2 separate regions of the Homo sapiens genome follow, and region 2 is linked to region 1. Evidence: promoter capture Hi-C in human tissues and cell types (Jung and others, 2019). All regions are on one chromosome and are shown on one strand. The core of a region is centred on a gene start or on the middle of the fragment in contact, and the rest is flanking DNA. Distances in the headings are between cores, read along the strand shown.

The links. The method cuts DNA at HindIII sites, captures the fragments that hold promoters and counts their contacts. A contact is called where the count stands out against the background at its distance.
Region 2: a fragment that was not itself captured here is called in contact with the fragment with the promoter of MSANTD2 in region 1 in 7 of the 25 tissues and cell types used here (H1 embryonic stem cells, IMR-90 fibroblasts, aorta and 4 more).

What each region holds. Positions count from the first base shown.
Region 1 is chr11:124,797,993-124,805,094 of GRCh38, forward strand. MSANTD2 (Myb/SANT DNA binding domain containing 2) reads right to left here and starts at 2,414. Exons shown (of 4, transcript NM_001308027.2): 1 at 1,879-2,414. The coding sequence starts at 2,388. It overlaps MSANTD2-AS1 (MSANTD2 antisense RNA 1), which reads left to right and starts at 2,436. Exons shown (of 5, transcript NR_103862.1): 1 at 2,436-3,264; 2 at 3,992-4,165; 3 at 6,739-6,856. RefSeq lists silencers at 1,057-1,106, 1,337-1,416, 1,817-2,056, 2,097-2,766 and an enhancer at 1,993-2,600. The HindIII fragment of the contact is 9,762 bases long and covers 1-7,102 here.
Region 2 is chr11:124,831,315-124,838,416 of GRCh38, forward strand. It overlaps MSANTD2-AS1 (MSANTD2 antisense RNA 1), which reads left to right. Exons shown (of 5, transcript NR_103862.1): 5 at 1,572-3,173. Among named protein-coding and RNA genes, the nearest start is that of ROBO3, 31 kb to the right of the region's middle. The HindIII fragment of the contact is 4,862 bases long and covers 1,140-6,001 here.

The DNA of each region.
Region 1 (7,102 bases), core at 1,164-3,663:
TTCTACAGACAGAAATCAATCAAGCTGAAACAGTTTAAAATGCCTAAAATGCACTTCTAAACTCAAGAAGAGGTCATGGATAGACGCTAGCCAAGACAGTACAAAAAGTCTCCCAAAAATTTAACCTTGGCTGGGCACGGTGGCTCACGCCTGTAATCCTAGTGCTTTGGGAGACTGAGGCAGGACAGCTTGAGACCAGGGAGCTAAAACCAGCCTGAGCAACGTAGAAGACCCTGTCTCTTAAAAAAAAAAAAAAAAAAAAAAAAAATTTAATGAGCCAGGTGTGGTGGGGCATGCCTGCAGTCCTAGCTACTGGGGAGGATTGTTTGAGCCCAGGAGTTCTTCAGGTTGGGCAAGAGAGGGAGATCCTCTCTCTAAATATAAATAAATAAAAATTAAAATTTAACCTTAATGACGTTGAATAGAACAAATGAGATTCAGAGAAGAGTAGCTTTGTCCTATTAGCTACTACTTTAATGTCTTTGTTAAAAAAAGAGAAAGCTTAAGAAGTCCCAAAGATAAATGTTATCAAATACACTAATTTAAATTTGTAATGGAGTAATTAATGGGTGGCAAATTCCTTGAACAATAGTAGGTTTTAAATATCTTAGTTTGTGGACCCAGTTTTCTAAGCAACAACATCCCCAAAGAAATACTACTGGAGCCAAGACCTGGAGAACTTTGGTGCAATTTCCCTCCTTTAGCTTACTCTAACTCATGATTGCGCCTATTAGACTTTATTATTGCTCTTTAGTGTGATCATTCTTATTTTATAATTGTTCTTGGTGGTTTTTATCCCCCCTCAAGAAGTTCCCAGAAAAAGTGCCAGCTGTATCAGAAAAGAAGTGCACAGATAATAGGATAAGTAGTTCAGTAAAAACTGGGAGAATCCTATCACAATCTTTTTAGCAGCCACTACGATGAGGAAATGAGCTTAACTAAAATACAACTCCTTATCTGCCAATAATACAAATATGAAAGCCTAGAGTCAGTTCTAGTAGCAAAATCTTAACCTGGCTAAGATTTCTAGCCCAAATTAAGCCTCTGCATTTAAACATGCAGGTACACAAGGACGGCCAGATGCACACTGAGAGTTCTACTTGTCACCACATCCGGCACAGAAACTGAAGCAGGGAAAAACTGGCTTTCCTGAAGGAGCTTCCTAAGAAACCGCAGGGCCTCAAGCCAATCTAACTCTGGAGGCATCGACAATCCAAATTCCAGACCAACTCTTGGCCAAGCTAACTTTTATGGTGTACACTAACTCCGCGGTAACAATACACAATCTGGCTACAATCAAGCCTTTCCAATTCTCCAAAGCATCTCTAGTCTTACTCGTCCTTCGTAGCTCAAGATAGAAGCAAAGCGACTGACACAAAGGCCAGTCGTCCCAAGGCGCTTTTTCTATGGCTCCGCTACGGCCACTTATTAACTATTCCTAAACTAGGGGCTCAATGCCCCCCCCTTCTGCCCTTCCTCAATCCTGCCCCGGCCGGTAAGCCTCTGCCTGGGAGCCCCTCCGCCTGGAACAAAGCGAGGGGCCCCGGCGGTGGGGGCAAGAGGCGCCAGCGGCACGGGGACTGCCGCACGGCGCACAATGAGAAACTACCAACTTCAGAGCGCAGGAACATCTCAATTGGCAAGAAAGAGGGGCGGCGGCAGGCACGCCCAACTTCAAACTCAGGAAACCTACGGGCTGGCGGCCATCTGGGAAAAAGCCCCCTTCCCAGGGAGAGAAGAAAAAGGCGGAGGAGATGCGAATCGCCCACCGGGCCCCGGAGGAGAGCCCTGCCCTCAGACCGGCCCCCGCCCCCGAGGCCCGCTTCCCCGCCTTCTCTCTGCCTCTGGTTCGCTGCCCCAGGCCGGGCGGCCGGTTACCTTGATGCGCTCCCGGCACTGGGACGGGGTCCGCTCGTAGCCCAGCTCGGCCAGGGCCCGGGACACGCGCTCGTACATGGCTGGCCCGGGGGCCTTGCTGCCGAACACCGTGCCGGCTCCCTCCAGCTGCTGGTACCGCGCCTCCACCAGCCGCTCGTTGCCCCACACTGCGATGAGCGCGTTCGTCTCGGCTGGCGTCCACGACATGCCCCGGCAGGCGGCGGCGGCGGCTGCCGCAGCCCCGCCACCGCCGCCACCAGGGGAGAAGGAGACCGAGGACGAGGCGGCGCTGCGGCCCCCCAGCCCCAGCCCGAGACCCCCGGACGCCGCTGCCCCCGAGCCCGCCGCACTGCCCGGCCCGAGCGGGGAGGCACCCCGAGGCGTGGAAGGGTCGGACAGCGATGGATTTCCGTCGCTCAGGCCACCAGGAGAAGCCGGGGAAAGCACCTCCATCTTCGGAATTTTTAGCGGCGAGTTGGCGGGCAGCTCCGAGCCACAGGGCGCAGCCATCTTCCAAGCGGCCGCCGCTGCACCGCCCGGAAGTGACGCGCCCGCGCATCCGGCCACCGCGGTCTCCGGGGCTGCCCTCGGGCCTGGCTCGCCCGCGGGCGGATGGCTCCGGGTCTCTGCTGCTGAGGATGTGGCTGCCGGGCGGAGGTCGTCCACTCCCCTGGGCCTTTCTCCGCGAGCCCTCCCACGCCGCCCGCTCCTCTCCCGGGGCGAAGGGCGGGGACGAGGCGCGCCGAAGCCCCGAGCTGAAGAGAAGGGTGGGGGCATGAGGGCGCTGGAGTGAGGAACAGATTGGAGCCTTCCCACTTCCTCTCCAATCTCAGCCCCCGGGAGGAGGGGTGAGGCCCTCGAGGGGGCCCGGAGTTAAGGAGGAATAGACCGTTTCTCTCTCTCCTGTCTCCCCCGCCTCTGCCCGTCTTCCCTCTAAGCCGGCCTCTAGGTGCAGAGGCTGACGTCCAGGATGGGGACCGGGGAAGCCTCTGGAGGGTATATCCGGGAAGGCACCAAGGCTGAAGTGAGAGCGGTTCTGGGGAAGGCTTTAAAAAGCAGATATGGACCAGGGTAGAGTTCGTACGCTGTAGCTTTTCAAGAACACCGATCTCATTAATTAAAGAACAGCAACTATTTAATTCCAGTTATAAACTATTGTTTTCCAGTTAGTCTGGGTAGGTGTGGCCGTTTGTAGAATAGTTAGATTACATTAGTCTATTGCGTTGGTACAGTTGTCTATAGCTTGAGCATATAAAAACTCCTGAGCCCAGCAGAAAAGTTACTTTCCAATACCAGTCTCCATCCTCCGTGCTTTGGAAGTTGCATCGTTTTCCGGTTTTTCGTACTCAAAGAACACTGTCAATTATGACAGCTCTGTGACCTCTGGTAATGAATTAGTGTATTAGTCACTCCTGAAACGTTCCTTAAAGTGCTGGAACTTAACAGTAGCACAGCACATCCAGTACACAGCTGTACCGTATTTCCATATTTTTCAAAGCTGAAAATCTTAATTGGATATCTTGGATCATTAACTTAAAACCTCAGCGGATTTTTCTTTCAAAGCAGACATAACTGAGGATGCTGACCAATGAATGCAAATAAACTATGCAATATTTTTTAAAATAACAAATGTATGTTAGTTTTTTTTAAGCTGAGGTCAACTATGTTTTGGGGGGTATGTGCTTTTTTAAATTATTGTTTTATTTCAATCGATTTTTGGGGGTAACAGGTGGCGTTTGGTTACATGAATAAGGTTTTTAGTGGTGATTTCTGAGATTTTGGTGCGTCCGAGCAATGTACACTGTATCCAATGTGTAGTCTTTTGTCCCTCATTAGCCTTCCCCTTACCCCTGAGCTCCCGAGTCCCCAAAGTCCAATGTATCATTCTTATTGAAGACAGCTAAATTTTTAACTCTGAGACTCACTGGAGAGAATGACTGGTTGTCTTTGGGTGTTACTGAAAAGCCAAAGGATTAAGCAATAGGGATAAAGTAGAGGAGGAGATAATTGTTCTCGTATGTCATATGAAAATGCTAACCATAGTTTGTAAGCTAACAGAAGAAGCCTGAGGAAGTTCCCGAATTTATGATATCCTCTTCCCTTTTTTCCAAAGAAAGATGCAGTCTAGCACCTCAGTTAAGAATATGGACTCTAAAGTCAGACTGCCAGGCTTCAAATTCCAGTTCTGCGACCTCAGCAAAGTTACTTAACCAAGCTCTCAGTGCCTTGTTTTCTTCATCTGTAAAATGAGGATGACGTCACAGCATTGTTGAGAGAATTAATACAGGTAAAGTCCTTAGAACGGTGCCTGGTTCACAGTAAACATTGTGTGAGGACTGTAAAAGAATCTGAAACATCTATCAAAACAAAATTAACTCTCATTCAGCCCAGTGATAAATGTTTTAATGTCATAAGGTATTTGGTGTGTATGAAAGGGAGAGTTGTGCCTAAATCATATACTAAATCAGAGATTCCAAAGAGGGGTGTGTGTGTGTGTGTGTGTGTGTGTGTGTGTGTGTGGGAGACAGGGTCTCACTCTGTCACTGAGGCTGGAGTGCAGTGGTGTGATCTCAGCTCACTGCAACCTCTGGTCCCAGGCTCAAGCGATCCTCCCACCTCAGCCTTCCAAGTAGCTGGGACCACAGGTATGTGCCACCACTCCCGGCTAATTTATGTATTTTTTGTAGAGATGGGGTTTCACCATGTTGCCTAGGCTGGTCTCAAACTCCTGGGCTCAAGTGATCCTCCACCTTTGCCTCCCAAAGTGCTGGGATTACAGGCATGAGCCACTGCACCCAGCCCTCCAAAGAGTTTTTAAATTACCACTTTAACCTTCTGTCATTGTCCCACAAGTCTGAAAAACAACAACAACAAAAACCCCTCCTCCTATTATCATGGGATCCTCGGGATGTGGCTTTGCCAGCCAGAAATCTCTGTGGCTGGTGGTGCCTTTGCCCAAGTTTTGCTTGGGCCCACTAGGTTCCTTCTGCCCACTCAGCCTGGCAGGCTGCACTCAGCTCATGCTACCAGCCCAGATCCCACACCTGCCAAGGGTAAGCCAGGCACAGAGCAGCAAGGGGTGCATGAGCGAGCAAGTGTGGGGTCTGGCCACTGCCCACAGCCAGGCACATCAGCTATGGCAGGTTGGGCAGCTCCAGGAGCCAGCATGGGCACTGGCTCCCTGTGAGGTTGCGGCTGGACCAGGCATACCACGAGCAGCTTCTGCTGATGGTACCAGGGAATGTGGTGGCTCCCAGAAGCTTGGCGACACCAGGAACTGCAGAGTCCCAAAGAGGGTGTAAGAGCCCTGGTTCGGGGAGCTCCTAGGTCTGGACTCCCCAAAGGGCCACAGGCAGGAGAATCGCTTGAATCTGGGAGGCAGAGGCTGCGGTGATCCGAGATGGCACCATTGTACTCCAGCCTGGGCAACAAGAGCGAAACTCCGTCTCCAAACAAACAAACAAAACAAAAACAAGTGTCCCTATATGCATGGGTGTGTTTCTGGGCTCTTCTATTACATTCATCTGTTTGTCTATCCATTTTTCTATTTGTGTTGCTTGTAATAATATCACACTGCTTTAATTACTGTGAGTTTATAGTAAGTCTTATGTCGAATACAGCAAGTGCCTCCTCACCCTCTTGCTTTTCCTCCTCCTCTTCCAAGAGTAGCTTGCTATTCTTAATCTTTTGCATTCTCCTATACATTTTAGAATTCATTTGTCAAATTCTACAGAAAAAAACTGCGGTTATTTTGAATGGTATTGCATTGAATCTGTGGACCAATTTGAGAACTGACATTTGTACAGTAATCACCCGTAGAGTCCTTGGAAATGGTATAAACCTTTAGTCTCTCAATAAAATTACGTTATTTACTTCATAAAGGTCTTACACATTTTTGTTCAGTTTGTTCCTAGGTAGTTGATTTTTTAAAATGTTTTTGTAAGTGGTATCATTTTTAAATTTTATTTTCTATTTTTTTTCTTTTGAGACAGGGTCTTGCCCTGTCACCCAGGCTGGAGTGCAGTGGTGTAAACATGGCTCACTGCAGCCTCAACCTCCGGGGCTCAAGCAAACCTCCTGCTGCAACCTCCCAAGTAGCTGGGTCTACAGGCATGCACCAACACATCTGGCTAATTTCTAATTTTTTTGCTGGTATATAAAAATACTAATTGATTATCTTATTTTGTATCTAGTAATCCTGATGGAGCAGTTGATTAAAATTGTATATCATTGCACGTCATTCTCTTTTTAAAAATCCAAGCCTAGTGAGACCCTGTCTCTACAAAAAGTTTTTTTTTTTTTAATTAGCTGGGCATGGTGGTGCACATCTGTACTTGCAACTACTCGGTAGGCTGAGGTGGGAGGATTGCTTGAGCCTGGGAGGTTGAAGCTGCAGTGAGCCATGATCGAGCCAGTACACTCCAGCTTGGGTGACAGAGCAAGACCCTGTTTCAAAAACAAACAAAAAAATCCACCAATGACTTTCCCTTGGAATGATATAATCCAAACTCTTTGCCATGCCTATGGTGGTTTTAAAACATGTCTGCACATTGTTTGACATTCTCCCAGGAAGAAATTAATCGAGTCTATATCTCCTCCCCTTGAATGTGGGTGGGTCTTGGTGACTACCTTGATAAACCGAATGCGATACAAGTGACACTGTGACTTTCAAGGCTAGATTTGAAAATACCCTGCAGCTTCTGGCAGTTTCTCTTGAGATACTTGCTCAGAAGCATTTCATCCACCATGTAAGAAGTTAGGCTATCCTAAGTGTACACGGAGAGACCACAAAGAGAACGAGAAAGATAGCCAGTGAACCAGAAAGATTCCAGCCTCCAGTTGGTTTTCTGCCTAATCCAGGCTCCAGACTTGTGAATGGAGAAGTGTTGAGGTGACCCCAGCTCCAGCCACCAGCTGACGACAACCATACCGGAGATCCTGAGAGCTGCCTAGCTGACCCCAGGCACCCCCCAGACTTGTGAGCAAAATGAATTATTGTTGTATGTTCTAACCCACTGAATTCTGGGGTATTTGTACGTAGCAATGGGTATTTGGAACAACAATCTGTAAGGCCCTTTTTACTCTGAGCTTAACCTACTGTGCAAACTTCATCTACCACCTCAAATACGCCCCAGCCACCCTGACCTCATCTGCCCCATCAAGCGAGCCAAACTTATTTCTGTTTTGGAGCATTTGGAGTTGTCATATCTCCTTATCTTAGAAC
Region 2 (7,102 bases), core at 2,321-4,820, 34 kb after region 1:
GTACTGCTGGGATTTTGGATTTTGGAGACAGCAACACACCTCTTTGAATACTGCTCCCACGCATGTATTGGGTGACTCAGAAGGCTACGGATTTTGAGGGAGGCCCAGAGCAAGACTACACTTCGCAGCAGGTTCTAGCTGCAGTTTAAGCGGCCTTTCTGCTTGGGCCATGTGCCTGGTAATTCCATGGTGCTAGAGATGCTTGTTGCAGGCATGTAGGCCACACAGAGTCTCTTGCAAGCTCTGTTAGGAAAGCTGCAGTATTGGCCTCTAGGGTTCTGTGGCAAGGCCGTGCCTGCAACAGTTAATGCTCCCAGAAGTGGATCTTAACAAACGATGGATAGAGGGTTGGTAGATACATATCCCAACTTCCTTGCCCCTCAGGTAGGAAAACTCTGAGGTGCATCCTAAGCCATCTGTCCCAGAGTTCCCTGAAGGAATTAAGCCCCAGCTATCCACAATTTACCCTGTATTGGCTTCTTTCCCTTCTCAGACCTTTATTTTCCTATTGGTGATCTTCCCCAGAGAAACTTCTTGCACTCAAAAGCTTGTCTCAGTGTCCGTCTCTGGAAGGATCCAACTCAATTGACCAACAATTAGAGAAAGGCAAAGGATCTTGGTCATCTTTTAATCCTGCTCAAAACACAGCTTTTTCCCAGAAAAGAAAGTCCTATGCTGCAATATCCTGGATTTGGTGGTTCAATGAGATTTCTCCTTTTTCTTTCTTTCTTTCTTTCTCTCTTTCTTTCTCTCTCTCTCTTTCTTTCCTTTCTTTCTTCCTTTCTTCCTTTTTCTTTCTCTCTCTCTTCTTTTCCTTTCCTTTCCTTCTTTTCTGCCTCCCTTCCTTTCTTCCTTTCCTTCCTTCCTTTCATCCCTTCCTCTCCACTCCCCCTTCTCTCTTTCTCACCCTCTTTCTTTCTTTTGATGGGGTCTTGCTCTGTCACCAGGCTGAAGTGCAATGGTGCGATCATGGCTTATTGCGGACTGGAATTTCTGGGCTCAAGTGATCCTCCTGCCTCAGCCTCCTGAGTAAGTGGGACTATAGCCATGCGCTGCCATACCTGGCTAATTAAAAAAAAAATTAAAGAGACTGGGTCTCTCCCTCTGTGTTGCTCAGGTTGGTCTCAATCTCCTAGCCTCAAGCAATCCTCCTGCTTCAGTCTCCTGAAGTGTTGAGATTACAGGTGCTAGCCACTGTGCTTAGCTATCAATGAGTTTTCGGTTGTATTTGCACATGCATACTAAAGAGGCAAGAAAAAAAAAACTGAAGATACCAGCTATGCGTCCTCCAATTCTAACTCCAGCAGATACCAGCTGTGCATCCTCCAATTCAATTCTAACACCTTCCACCTGGAGACAGGCTCAGTCACATCCCACAGGCTGCGGGCTCAGTCCCACAAGGCTGCCCCACTTCAAACGCCAGTCATAACCACAGGCTGTAACCTGTGCTTCTGACCAAGCAACTATAAATTGAGGTTTTCAGGGCCCTCACCTTGGGTTTGATTAATTTGCTAGAGTGACTCATAGACCTCAGGGAAACACTTTACTTACACTTACCCATTTATTACAAGGATGTTACAAAGGACACAGATCAAGAGCCAGCTGGAAGAGATGCACAGGGAAGGGGTGCGGAGCTCCCATGCCCTCTCCAGGGCACCACCCTCCAGGCACCTCCATGTGTTCAGCTATCTGGAAGCTCCCCAGACTCTGTCCTTTTGGGTTTTCATGGAAGCTTCATTATGTAGGCATGAATAATTATATCATTGACCACTGGTGACCAACCCAAACTTCAGATCCTTTCCCTTCCCCAGAGGTTGGAGGGTGGGGCTGAAAGTCCCAGCCCTCTAATCATGGCTGGGCCACCATTTACCTCATTAGCATACAAAAGACTCCTGTTGCTTTAGAGATTCCAAGGGTTTGGGAAGCTATATGTCAGGAGACAGGAGAAGACCAAATATATATTTCACAGTATCACACACACATACTCTCTTGATCACAGGTGAAGTTTTGCCCAAAGCAACAGAAGTGAAGCAAGCTTCTATTCTCACAGAGGTTTGGGTCCGGTAGATACTAATAACTTCTATTCTCTGATGCATTGTAGTAGGGCAGACATTAAGCATTTCATGTGCATTTTTTTTTTCTTTTTGAGACAGGGTCTCACTCTATCTCCCAGGCTGGAGTGCAGTGGCACTAACACAGCTCACTGTAGCCTCAATCTGCAGGGCTTAAGCGATCCTCCCACCTCAGCCTCCTGAATAGCTGGGATTACAGGCATGCACTACCATGACCAGCATATTTGTATTTTTTGTAGAGACGGGTTGTTACTATGTTGCTCAGGCTAGTCTTGAACTCCTGACCTCAGCCTCCCAAGTAGCTAGGAATACAGGCACATGCCACCACAGCCAGCATATTTTTGTATTTTTTGTAGAGACAGCTTACTGCCATGTTGCTTAGGCTGATCTTGAACTCCTGAGCTCAAGGGCTCCACAGGCCTTGGCTTCCCAAAGTGCAAGGACTAAGGTGCAACTGCCACACCCAGCCTTTCATATGTATTATCTTATTTAAGCTTCACTTTACAAGTGAGAAGGGCAGCCTTGGCTCAGAGAAGTTAGGTGACTTGCAGCAAATCACATAATTGCTAAGTGATGGATCTGAGCTTTAGCCCCAGGACTATCTGACCTTGGGTCTAAACTTATACTACTGTATTTTTCGTTAAGTCAGTCAGAGTTCTATCCTTTGACAGAAAGTATAACCTTCTTTTAAGGCAGAATAAGACCCTCTGCCCAACCCTGCTCTTTCTTTCTCCTCCGCACTAAGAAGACAGCGAATACAGTAGAGGGTTTTGGACTGGGATAGTGGTTGCAGAGAAGATCTGGAACTAAAAATATGGACCAGGGGTAGAAATGGTGGTGATTCCACCAAACTTGGAAACACTTAACAAGACCCCATAACATGCAAGATATGCAAGAAATGGGGTACATTTTCTATACCAGTGCCTTAAGTAAAAAAATTCCTTGTTAAACAAATGATTTAGAGAAGACAGAACCAAATATATATATATAGCTGTGTGTGTATTCTAATAAAGGTTGTTAAAGTCTTAAAGTTAGTGGTGGGAGAAAACAATAAAAAAATATGAAATCTCCCTATGTTAATAAACTAATTTCAAATACCAAGGGTTGGTTTTTGGTTGGGTGAGTCTGTTTTTGCCTTGATTAAAAAGAAGTGATTTTTTTCTTCAGCCTAGTTTTCCTGGTATGAAAGGCAAGAAGGAATGACATTCCATAACTGTTATAGAGGTGAAAACAGTTTTATTTATTGGTGGTCATTACCGGCCTATAACCAGGGCACAACCTTCTTGGTAAACATTTACCAAGCATTAGTGGAAGATGATTCACTAACTTTTAAAACTCTCCTTCCCTTATATGCATATTAATACCACGATATCTTTAGCTTTTAAGTCCATATATACAGGCACAGGTGCGAATAAATTCAAACATATCACTTGTAGTGGTTTACATAAGGGCTTGCTAGTTCAAATGGGGTTGTTAGTTTTGCATCTCAAATTAGTTCCTGTCAACCCAGCAACTAAAGAAAATTCCTTTGTGAAAAAAGTTTCCAGGCATGACCCAGTAATTGTTTTAATGGATTTTCAATGAAGGGTGAAGTACCATGCTATGTAGCCTGTGGGCATTCCATAAATATATTTTGACTGATTCTGTTAACAAACTACATAGAAAAAACCAAATACTTACTATCCAATCCTCTTATATTGTTTCCCATAGGCTCTGTCTGTTAGTGTATTTATAAGCATTTAAAGTGTATAAGGGAGCTCTGGCAGTGAGAGTGAATTGCCCAATGCAGAGAAGCACTCTGGGCTGGAGGGTTTTACTTAGTCTAAGATTTTCTTTTTTTTTTTTTGTGAGACGGAGTCTGGCTCTGCCGTCAGGCTGGAGTGCAGTGGCATGATCTTGGCTCACTGCAGCTTCCGCCTCCTGGGTTCAAGCGATTCTCCTGCCTCAGCCTCCCGAATAGCTGGGAGTACAGGTGCATGTCACCACGCCTGGCTAATTTTTGTATTTTTAGTAGAGACAGGGTTTCACCATGTTGGCCAGGATGTTCTCGATCTCTTGACCTCGTGATCCACCCTCCTCGGCCTCCCAAAGTGCTGGGATTACAGGCGTGAGCCACTGTACCAGGCTACTTAGTCTAAGATTTTCAGTGTGCACCTGAGATTTGCCCTTTCCAAAATGAGGAAGAGGCCTGAAGCCGATCAGCTGAAAGAAGTACTAAGCCCTGCAGGCTGAAAAGGTAATGTCCCACCTATGCTGGAGGACCTGATGTTGGTATAGTCAATTTTCTGTCTTCTATGTAAGGTATAGATCTGCTCTGATCTTGACATTGTGAAGAAAGCTACTATACTGTCAGAATCTGCTGTAATATAGCCCTGAGATGAGAAAGGTGTGTAGAACAGAAATCTTCACTGCCCTTCTCCCAAAACATTCATTGACCCCTCCTGTAAGATATATATATATATATAATTATTATTTTTTCTAGACAGAGTCTCGCTCTGTTGCCCAGGCTGGAGTGCAGTGGTGCAGTCTTGGCTCACTACAATCTCAGCCTTCCAGGTTCAAGGTTCCCAGGTTCCCAAGCAGATTCTCGTGTCTCAGCCTCTTGAGAACTGGGGCTACAGGCACACGCCACCACACCTGGCTAAGTTTTATATTTTTAGTAGTGATGGAGTTTTGCCATGTTGGCCAGGCTGGTCTTGAACTCTTGATCTAAGGTGATCCGCCAACCTTGACCTCCCAAAGTGCTGAGATTACAGTCATGAGCCACCGCGCCCGTCCTGCATTCTTGCTGTGTGTGTGTAACCCTTGCTATAGTTATATAATTTAGGTTGAATTTAATTTATACGTTGACTATGATCTGAGGGTCAAGATCATTTGGGATAAAGGAGAGATCAACTACATGTCCGTATACTGCAAGTTAGAATTTAGTTAAGAAGGCCCTGAGTAGATTCCAGAATTATAATAAAGCTTTCATTTTTAGTTTGAGGAAACTTCAATATGGGCGACAGAACAAAGAACTCGGGTGGTAGGAATTAAGTTGGTAGGAATTAAGAGGGTGCCTGCCAGACGGGCTGGAAGTGAAGGAAGCCATGTGCCTGCAAAGCTGTTTAGGGCTGCCATGTGTTTATGCCCTGGCAGAAACCTCTGGTTAGAAGTTAGATCGCTTACATTTTTCTTAAGTAACCCATTTTGTTACATCCATATGTTTTCCCTCTTTCCAGAAGGAAAAAAAAGTATCAGCGAGCCCTTCCTCACGGATCAGGAAGCTCAAGGGATTACTCAAGTACATTGGCGGCAGTTACAAAGATATTTTCTTTTTTTTTTTTTTTTTTTTTGAGACGGGGTCTCGCTCTGTTGCCCGGACTGGAGTGCAGTGGCGCGATCTCGGCTCACTGCAAAGCTCCGCCTCCCGGGTTCACGCCATTCTCCTGCCTCAGCCTGCCAAGTAGCTGGGACTACAGGCGCCCGCCACGACACCCGGCTAATTTTTTGTATTTTTAGTAGAGACGGGGTTTCACCGTGTTAGCCAGGATGGTCTCGATTTCCTGACCTCGTGATCCACCCGCCTCGGCCTCCCAAAGTGCTGGGATTACAGGCGTGAGCCACCGCGGCCTACAAAGATATTTTCAAGCATTGTTCTCCCTACCCCAAATTTCTGAGTCATTTAAGTAGAGAAACAGCTCTTTTGCCCTGGCTCATATATGAAAAAAGTAGAATTCAGGCCAGGCTTCAAGTCTAGGGATGATTCTCATTAATGAGGTTAGGTCTGCCACCTGGTGGTGAGAAATAAAATGCCACTTGATTTTCTCATCTGATCTGTCCATATACCACACTTAAAAATTCCACTTTGCAAATCCATCCTTAACCTCTGACTCGGGTTGTGCTTGCCGCCAGCCAAAAGTTCCCAACTGATGACAACGGCACCGACACCTTGGGGAGAATTTTTAGGCAACCATCTGGAACTCATTCCCTATGAACACATTTGAAGTGTTTTAGAACACTGGTAGGTGGTTCTACAACACTTCAAATGTGACTTAAGGTAGATTTTAGGAGAACAAGGTTCTCCTAAAGAGGAAAGATAGCACTAATTCATTCATTAGTACACAAACTATTGTGTAAAAAAAAACTATGCTCTTCAATTTGTAAACAAATGTGTAAGACAATGCCCCGCTCCATCAGTGACAAAGAGATGGGAGTGGATAACCAAGTTAGGCTGGGAAAATAAGAGTAATTCTTGCTTCCCGTTGAAAGGCTGAGGAGAGTGCAGAATCATCTGAAGCCATTAGGGGGAGTGCTAAGTCTTCAGAAACACACACACACACACACACACACACACACACTCGAATACTAGAATATGAATTCTGGAATATGTCCACAATTATTTGGGGATTTGGCCTATGGATCCCTCACAGAGGGTGAAGATACCCAAGTACCCTGGAGAGCTTCAGCTTCCAGTAACCTCCTCCAGCACTGAAGACTTCAGCTCCTTCCTTTTTTCACCTGCCCCTATTTTCCTTTCCTTGTAGGCCAGTACTCTCAAAGTGTGGCCCCCAGTATCACCACTGTCACCACCTGGGAAACTTTCAGAAATGCAATATCTCTGCCCGTACCCCAGATCAAAGGAATCAGAAACTGTAGGGCAGGGTTAATAAGGCCTCCAGGTGATTTTCATGCAAGCTGTGAATCTCTAGTCCAGGGGTGTCCAATCTTTCGGCTTCCCTGCCACATTGGAAGAAGAATTGTCTTGGGCCACACATAAAATACACTAGCTAAAAAATTTTTTTTTTTGCAAAAAACCTCATCATGTTTTAAGAACATATATGAATTTGTGTTGGGCCGCATTCAAAGGTGTTCTGGTCTGCATGCGGCCCATGGGCCGTGGGTTGCACAAGCTTGCTCTAGTCTTAGGGTGATCCTCTGGGCACAGACCAGGGAGACTTGTCGGAGTGGGAGCTAAGGGGAGAAGCAATGGGTCCTAGAAGCCAATCTAGTTACCCAGTCCAGCCCAGAGTGTTAGAGGGAGCAGAGAA